2 separate regions of the Homo sapiens genome follow, and region 1 is linked to region 2. Evidence: promoter capture Hi-C in 16 types of primary human blood cells and fetal thymus (Javierre and others, 2016). All regions are on one chromosome and are shown on one strand. Each heading gives the region's core, a stretch centred on a gene start or on the middle of the fragment in contact. The rest is flanking DNA. Distances are from core to core; before and after follow the strand shown. Region 1 overlaps H2AZ2 (H2A.Z variant histone 2). Region 2 holds the start of TMED4 (transmembrane p24 trafficking protein 4).

Region 1 (4,771 bases), core at 1,735-4,234, 260 kb before region 2:
TAAGGTGGACAGATCACTCAAAACCCTGTCTCTACTAAAAATACAAAACAGCCAGGCGTCCTGGCGCGCCTATAATCCCACCTACTCAGGAGGCTGAGGCAGGAGAATCGCCTGAACCCGGGAGGCGGAGGTTGCAGTGAGCCAAGATGGCGCCACTGCACTCCAGCCTGGGTGACAGAGTGAGACTCTGTCTCAATAAAAAAAATAATAAAGGGCACAGACAAGTGGGATCAGGATACTTTGAAATGAGAAAAATACCCTCTTTTTCAGAAAGTAGAAAGAACCACAATGAGATAATAGTATTGATTTTTCTTAACTATCAGATCACCTCTTGAAACTGAAGAAAGAACATTTAAGATCTGAGGAAGGTATTGGAGGTTCAAAGTTGCATGTGGCTATTATGTGAAGAAATTAACTAGATAGGAATTTGATCCATGGGTCATGTTGAACGTACAGTTGATGACAGCCCAGCGTGGTATTTCTTCATTTTAGAGTGATATTTCCCATATTATGCAGAGGTTAAAGATTTTGGACAGATTACCAGAACAGAGACACAGGCCCTGGGAACTATTGATGCGTAATAGGTTTGGCTTCTGATATGTGTGATCAAGTTTTTTATTATTTCATGCTTACATTGTTCAGCCTTTGATTACAGTCAGTGCAATGTTAAGACTCTGCAGTGCTTCCCACTAAGACATCTCTCTTTTAGTTTCCTGTGGGCCGCATCCACAGACACTTGAAGACTCGCACCACAAGCCATGGAAGGGTGGGTGCCACTGCTGCCGTGTACAGTGCTGCGATTCTGGAGTACCTCACTGCAGAGGTTTGTACAGGAATGTCTGTTGTATATGGCCATCCAGAAGGTGCACTAGTCTCAGTGACAGAAACCCATGGAATATATTTGAAAAAAGACATATTATGCTCACTGGGGCTTTTTTGTTTGTTTGTTTGGAGACAGAGTTTCACTCTTGTTTCCCAGGCTGGAGTGCAATGGCCAGTCTCGGCTCACTGCAACCTCTGCCTCCCGGATTCAAGCGATTCTCCCACCTCAGCCTCCCAAGTAGCTGGGACTACAGGTGTGCACCACTGTGCCCAGCTAATTTTTGTATTTTTAGTAGAGACAGAGTTTCACCATGTTGGCCACACTGGTCTCAAACTCCTGACCTCAGGTGATCTACCTGCCTCAGCCTCCCAAAGTGCTGAGATTACAGGCTTGAGCCACCACGTCCGGCCTCATTGGTTTCTTTAATAGCAGTTTGAGATGCATCTTGTCAGCTATTACCCAATGCCAATGTAAAAGAACCTTGGTGTACTTGTTTTTAAAGCTAAGCAAGGGGCTGGGCACAGTGATTCACGCCTGTAATGCCAACACTTTGGGCGGCTGAGGTGGGTAGATTGTACACTTGAGTCCTGGAGTTCCAGACTAGGCTGGGTGACAGAGCAAGACCCTATCTCAAAGTAAAAAAATTTTTAAAAGTTAAGCAAGGGCCAGCAATCTCTTATCTTTTATTTTTATTTTTTTATTTTGAGACTGGGTCTCACTCTGTCACCTAGGCTGGAGTATAGTGGCATGATCATAGCTCACTCCAACCTCAAACCTCCTGGGTTCAAAGGATCCTCCTGCCTCAGCCTCCCTAGTAGCTGTGACTTCAGGTGTGTGCCACCACACCTGGCTAATTATTTATTTATTTATTTATTTATTTATTTATTTATTTATTTTGAGACAGGGTCTTGCTCTGTATCCCAGGTGGAGTGCAATGGCACAATCTTGGCTCACTGCAACCTCCACTTCTTGGGTTCAAGCAATTCTCCTGCCTCAGCCTCCCCAGTAACTGGGATTACAGGCACCCGCCACTACACCCGGCTAATTTTTGTATTTTTAGAGGAGACTGGGTTTCACCATGTTGGCCAGGTCAGTCTCAAATTCCTGACCTCAGGTGATCCACTTGCCTCAGCCTCCCAAAGTGCTGGGACTACAGGTGTGAGCCACTGCGCTGGGTGCTAATTTTTTATTTTTATTTTATTTATTTATTTTTTTTTGAGACAGAGGCTCGCTCTGTCACCCAGGCTGGAGTGCAGTGGTGCAGTCTCGGCTCACTGCAACCTCCGCCTCCCGGATTCACGCCATTCTCCCACCTCAGCCTCCCGAGTAGCTGGGACTACAGGCACCCGCCACCACGCCCGGCTAATTTTTTTTTTTTGTATTTTTAGTAGAGACGGGGTTTCACCGTGGTAGCCAGGATGGTCTCGATCTCCTGACCTCGTGAGCCACCCACCTCCACCTCCCAAAGTGCTGGGATTACAGGCGTGAGCCACCGCGCCCAGCCTATTTTTTATTTTTTTGTGGAGACAGGGCTCCCTATGTTACCCAGGCTGGTTTCTAACTCCTAGCCTCAAGTGGTCCTCCCAAGTTGCTGGGATTACAGACATAAACCACCATACCCCAGTGAACTTTGAAGTATGTATGTAATCAGTAGACAGTATTTGTGAAGTTAGAGCATAATGTTGTAGTTTATGAAGATTTGGGATGATGTAAAGTTTGGCCAGTGTGATGATATATAAAAATCACAAATATGATAATAGAAGTAAAAGACTCAGTCTGTCCTGGTTCTCTGCAGGGTTATACATACAAAATTGCTGTATATTACTCAGTTTGAAATTTCAGGAAGACAAGTTAATTGGGCAAGAGTTCTTGGGTCACAGACCACCACTTTCCCCATCCCTATTCCTCCTTTAAAAAAATCCGTTGGGAAGTCATAAAACTTCAGCTACATTCCAGATTGGGGAAGTAATTTGAGTAACAAGTAGGTCAAGTGTAGACGCATTCATTCTGGTGGAAACAGAAGGGTCTTACTTGGGGAGATGTGATTGGGAGCTAGGCTGAGGAATTTAGCTTTTAATCTGTATGTCAGTTATCATTGCTGTCATTTATTTCATTAGTCTCACCAAGTCATCTGTGTCCCACTGGGGATTTAACATCGAATTATGGATGTTATGGATAGTTTCAGCTTCTCTGTGTCATGATCAAGGGGTGTTTTGTTTTTGGGGTTTTTCTTGTGTGTTTGTTTTGAGACAGGATCTCTCTCTGTCTCCCAGGCTGGAAGGCAGGGACATGATCTCTGCTCATTGCAACCTCTGCCTTCTGGGTTCCAGTAATTCTCCCACCTCAGCCTCCGGAGTAGCTGGGGCTACCGGTGTGCATCACCACACCTGGCTAATTTTTGTTATTTTCTTGTAGAGACAAGGTTTTGCCATGTTGGCCAGGCTGATCTCGAACTCCTGACCTCAAATGATCTGTCCGCCCCAGCCTCCCAAAGTGCTGGGATTACAGACATGAGCCACCTTTTATTAAAAGAGGCCACCTGGCCTCTTTTATTTTTAAAAATTTTTAAATTTTAATTAAAATACATTTTAAAACTTTTCTATAAGCATTAAGAAATAAATTTCACGGCTGGGCACGGTGGCTTACGCCTGTAATCCCAGCACTTTGGGAGGCTGAGGTGGGCAGATCACGAGGTCAAGAGATCGAGACCATTCTGGCCAACATAGTGAAACCCTATCTCTACTAAAGATACAAAAATTAGCTGGGCATGGTGGCGTGTGTCTGTGTATAGTCCCAGCTACTCAGGAGGCTGAGGCAGGAGAATTGCTTGAACCCAGAAGGCAGAGGTTGCAGCGAGCCGAGATCGCGCCACTGCACTCCAGCCTGGCGACAGAACGAGACTCCGTCTTAAAAAAAAGAAAAAAAAAGAAATTTCAGCTATTAAAGGTTCTGCAGAAATAGACCACATAGATATATTAAAATATATGACTTTGGCTGGGTGTGGTGTCTTACATTGAACATTGTGGTTCACAAGGTTCAAGCCCCATCTATCTAAGCCCCCCCCCCCTTTTTTTTAAATCTTTGGGAACTTTGGTTAAAATTTTTAAAGTTTACACAGTGGCTCATGCCTGTAATCTCAGCACTTTGGGAGGTCAATGTGGGCAGATCATTTGAGTCCAGGACTTCCAGACCAGCCTGGACAACATGGCAAAACCCTGTCTCTACAAAAAAATACAAAAAATTGACCAGATGTGATAGTGTGCACCTGTAGTCCCAGCTAGTGGAGAGGGTGAGGTGGGATGATTACCTGACCCAGGAGGTTGAGGCTGCAGTGAGCCATGATTGCACCACTGCACTCCAGCCTGCATGACAGTGAGACCATGTCTCAAAAAAAAAAAACAATTTAGGTTAAGATTGGACAATGAATGTGTGGGTGCAGTCAACTTTTTTTTTTTTTTTTTTTTTCTTTTTTTTTTTTTTGAGAGTCTTGCTCTGTCGCCCAGGCTGGAGTTCAGTGGCTCAATCTCGGCTCACTGCAACCTCCACCTCCTGGGTTCAACCGATTCTCCTGCCTCAGCCTCCCAAGTAGCTGGGATTACAGGCGTGTGCCACCACACCTTGCTGATTTTTGTATTTTTAAAGTTCAGCAGTTGATTCTCCTGTATACCCAACACTGCTCTATTTAAAACGAGGAGGTGGCCTGGCGTAGTGGTTCACGTCTGTAATCCCAACACTTTGGGAGGCCAAGGCGGGCAGATCACAAGGTCAGGAGTTTGATTTTTTTATTTTTTTTGAGACGGAGTCAAGGTCAGGAATTTGAGACCAGCCTGGCCAATATGGTGAAACCCTGTGTCTGTTTTTTTTGTTGTTTTGTTTTTTGTTTTTGTTTTTGTTTTTCTTTTCGAGACAGAGTCTCGCTCTGTCGTCCAGGCTGGAGTGCAGTGGCGC
Region 2 (4,266 bases), core at 1,298-3,797:
GGTACGGGGGTCTATGCAAGGGAGGGCCTGAAGATTAAGCTTCATTAGTTTCACTGTAAACCTCCCCTGACTCTAGAATTAACTGTGATTACAGGACATACCAGGGACAAAAAACGTTAAATGACACCTGAAGATACAATCAGCAAAACCCAGAAAGTGGAAAATTCTGTTGGTCAAATGACCCAGTTTCTTCAATAAGTAAATGCCATGAATAACAAACAACAAAAAGAGAGGGGAAATTTATATATATAATATATATATAATATGTATAATATATATATATGTTGTTATATGGTTTGTTTTTTTTTTTTTGGACACGAGTCTCTCTCTCACCCAGGCTGGAGTGCAGTGGCATGATCTCGGCTCACTGCAACCTCTGCCTCCTGGGTTCAAGCGATTCTTCTGCCTCAGTCTCCCAAGTAGCTGGGACTACAGGTGAGCACCACCACACCCAGCTAATTTTTGTATTTTTGGTAGAGGTAGGGTTTCACCATATTGGCCAGGCTGGTCTCGAACTCCTGACCTCGTGATCTGCCCACCTTGGCCTCCCAAAGTGCTGGGATTACAGGTGTGAGCCACTGCGCCCGGCCCTGTTTTTGTTTGTTTTGAGATAGAATCTCACTCTGTTGCCTAGGCTGGAGTACAGTGGCATCATCTCAGCCCACTGCAACCTCCACCTCCCTGATTCTAGCAATTCTCCTGCCTCAGCCTCCCAAGTAGCTGAGATTACAGGTGTGCACCACCACACCTGGCTAATTTTTGTATTTTTAGTAGAAACAGGGTTTCACCATGTTGGCCAGGCTGGTCTCAAACTCCTGACCTCAAGTGATCCTTCCACCTCAGCCTCCCAAAGTGCTGGGATTACAGGCATGAGCCACTGTGCCCAGCCAAAATTGTTATATATTAAGAGACATATATTTGTATGAAATGCAGTAAGTAAACCTTGTTTGGACCCTAAATATCTAATGTACAAAATTTTTTAAGGCAATGGGGAAAATTAAACACATACTAGGTATTAAGTGATGTTAAATAATTTTTAAAATTTTGGTGGGTGTGATAATAGTATAAAGTCCTTATCTGTTAGAGACACACACTGACGTATTTATAGGTGAAATGACATGATGTCCAGGATTTGCTTTAATATACAGCACTTCAAAAAAAAATGCAGAAAGGGATACATGAAATGAGAAAGGCAGCAAACTGTTGTTGAAGTTGGATGATGAGTACAGCCCTCCGTTATTATCCAAGGGGGATAATTCCTGGACCCCTACGGATACCAAAATCCAGGTATGCTCAAGTTCTTTATGAAAGTTCATTGTAATTATTCTATTATATAAAAGTTTCGAAATTCTGTTGATAAAATGTATTTTTAGTAGAGACGGGGGTTTCACCTTGTTGGCCCAACTGGTCTCGAATTTCTAACCTCAGATGATCCACCAGCCTTGGCCGCCCAAAGTGTTAGCATTACAGGCGTGAGCCACCGCGCCCGCCTGGCCTTGATAAAAACAGTTTTAACCTTCCGTTGCTTCGATTCCATGCCCACTAAGTAACATTCCAGTTTGTTTTTCACTTTCAAAAGGATGTGCTGTAACTAGGGGATGTAAACAAGCTCCATGACCCTACTTATTCCAAGTTTTCGTTCCACTCTCCCACCTTTTTTTTAAGACAAGGTATCACCCTCGGTCGCCCAGGCTGGAGCGCGATCACTGCTTAATGCATCCTCGACCTCCTGGGTTCAAGCGATTCTCCTGCCTCAGCCTCCCAAGTAGCTGGGACTACATGCGCACACCACCACACCGGTTAATTTTTTGTAGAGACGGGGGTTTCACCATGTTGCCCAGGCTGGTCCCGAACTCCTGGGCTCAAGGGATCCGCCCGCCTCAGCCTCCCAGAGTGCTGGGATTACAGGTGCCAGCCACCGCGCCCGGCCCCAGCTTCTTAAAAGAATGATCCGAAACTATGGCAGCACTGGGCTTTTGGTCCCCACCCAAGAAATGCCCGCTCGCAGAGGCTCGCCGCGGCAGGCTCTCCCGACGTGACAGAGTGTGGGTCTGGATTCAGCCTCGGTTCTTACGAGTCAGATAGGTGGACACGCAAAGCAAAACATCACAGGGCTTTTTGTATTTAGCACAGAAAACACTTGTGAGCCCGAGCTGAGAACCCAAAAGGCACGCTTCAGGCCATCGTAGCCACCAAGCCTGGTCAGATTCCGTCCACCGTCTCCTTGGTGCTCCGAGACCCAAATCGCTGACTGGGGCCGAGGGCGGGCGTGACTGCGCAGGCGTGCCTCCCCTGCGAGATGCCGGAGGTAAGCTGCGGGGTAAGGGGCGAGAAATTAAGGGCGAACGTCATTGCGCATGCGCCCTCTACTCTCGTTGCGGGGGTAGGCGGGCGCCGGGCTGTGTGAGGGGGCGGGGCGCGGCAGTGTTCGGTACGGATGGAGTTGCAGGAGACGGCGAGTACATATCACTGCGCAGGCGTCCTCTTCCCCTAACTCTCAGGGTCGCTAGGGTGGCGCGCAGGCGCAGAGCGATGCGCAAATGTGCGCAGGCGCTTAGGGGCTGAGGCGCGATGGCAGGTGTCGGGGCTGGGCCTCTGCGGGCGATGGGGCGGCAGGCCCTGCTGCTTCTCGCGCTGTGCGCCACAGGCGCCCAGGGGCTCTACTTCCACATCGGCGAGACCGAGAAGCGCTGTTTCATCGAGGAAATCCCCGACGAGACCATGGTCATCGGTCAGGCGGGCTGAGGGTGGGGAGGCCCTTTGTACCCAGCTCAGCCCTCGGCGGCGCTCCCTCCTCCCGAGCCCAGCCGGGTCGCTGGCTCCCCCAGTACCTAGCCTGAGGGTGCCCCGAGGACGCCAGGCCCCCTGCCTAGAGCTCCGGGCCGCACGTCGGAGGGGGCCGGGCGGAGAGGCGGCCCACTAGGGCCGGTCGTGACTATGTGTCTGCCCCGCAGGCAACTATCGTACCCAGATGTGGGATAAGCAGAAGGAGGTCTTCCTGCCCTCGACCCCTGGCCTGGGCATGCACGTGGAAGTGAAGGACCCCGACGGCAAGGTAAGGCTGGCGTTGGCCCACGCAGCCGTTCTTCAGTGGAGCTCCCGTGGGGTGTAAAGCACTGCCTGGAGGAGGCCTCAAGGGACAGGAACTTGCACTTGGAGAGCCTGCGGTATAAAGGTGGGGCCTTCACTCACATATGTTGCAGGTGGTGCTGTCCCGGCAGTACGGCTCGGAGGGCCGCTTCACGTTCACCTCCCACACGCCCGGTGACCATCAAATCTGTCTGCACTCCAATTCTACCAGGATGGCTCTCTTCGCTGGTGGCAAACTGGTAAGAGGATTTTCTCTTTGGCTTCAGCTTAGAATCTCTCACTTGTTTCCAAATTTTGATTTATCAAGATTGTGAAACTTTGTAGCACAGTCAGAATTGGGGAGACAGATGTTGCCTTCTGCTCCACAGCCAGGGACAATAGTGGGTTCCATACCCTGGAACAGACAACTGGAGGCCCCACCACTCATACATTCCATGTTTCCTTGTAGCGGGTGCATCTCGACATCCAGGTTGGGGAGCATGCCAACAACTACCCTGAGATTGCTGCAAAAGATAAGCTGACGGAGCTACAGCTCCGCGCCCGCCAGTTGCTTGATCAGGTGGAACAGATTCAGAAGGAGCAGGATTACCAAAGGGCAAGTGCATATCTCCTTGTAATTTGAGAGGGCAGTTGACCTTTATACCCACTATACCTACTCAAGTTTCTGCTTGGGAGATCAGCTCTGCAGAGAATGGAATGAGAAGTATTGGTTTAGATAGGTTGTTTGTTTGTTGTTTTTGAGACGGAGTTTCACTCTTGTTGCCCATGCTGGAGTGCAATGCCATGATCTTGGCTCACTGCAACCTCCGCCTCCCCAGGTTCAAGCGATTCTCCTGCCTCAGCCTCCTGAGTAGCTGGGATTACAGGCATGCGCCACCATGCCTGGCTAATTTTGTACTTTTAGTAGAGACGGGGGTTTCTCCACGTTGGTCAGGCTGGTCTCGAACTCCCGACATCAAGTGATCCGCCCGCCTCAGCCTCCCAAAGTGCTGGGATTACAGGTGTGAGCTACCGCGCCCTGCCTGTTTTGCTTTTTTATCAAAACATTTTATTGTGGTAAAATATAACACCAAATGTGTCATTTTAACTGTCTATATAGTTCAGTGGTATTAAGTGCCTTCATAATGTTGTGCTACCAACACCATCATCCAGCTCCAGAACTTTTTCATCTTCTCA

Evidence for each region. Contacts are between HindIII fragments. The CHiCAGO score rates a contact against its expected background, and 5 or more counts as called.
Region 1: a contact is called between a fragment that was not itself captured here and the fragment with the promoter of TMED4 in region 2, in 11 of 17 cell types (monocytes, total CD8 T cells, erythroblasts and 8 more). The highest score is 10.3, in monocytes.

The regions. Positions count from the first base shown.
Region 1 is chr7:44,836,951-44,841,721 of GRCh38, reverse strand. It overlaps H2AZ2 (H2A.Z variant histone 2), which reads left to right. Exons shown (of 5, transcript NM_012412.5): 3 at 710-823. Among named protein-coding and RNA genes, the nearest start is that of H2AZ2, 8.8 kb to the left of the region's middle. The HindIII fragment of the contact is 6,713 bases long and covers 1-4,771 here.
Region 2 is chr7:44,580,512-44,584,777 of GRCh38, reverse strand. It overlaps TMED4 (transmembrane p24 trafficking protein 4), which reads left to right and starts at 2,547. Exons shown (of 5, transcript NM_182547.4): 1 at 2,547-2,731; 2 at 2,955-3,055; 3 at 3,204-3,329; 4 at 3,539-3,685. The coding sequence starts at 2,572. RefSeq lists an enhancer at 2,064-2,173 and silencers at 2,264-2,423, 2,824-2,923. The HindIII fragment of the contact is 9,471 bases long and covers 42-4,266 here.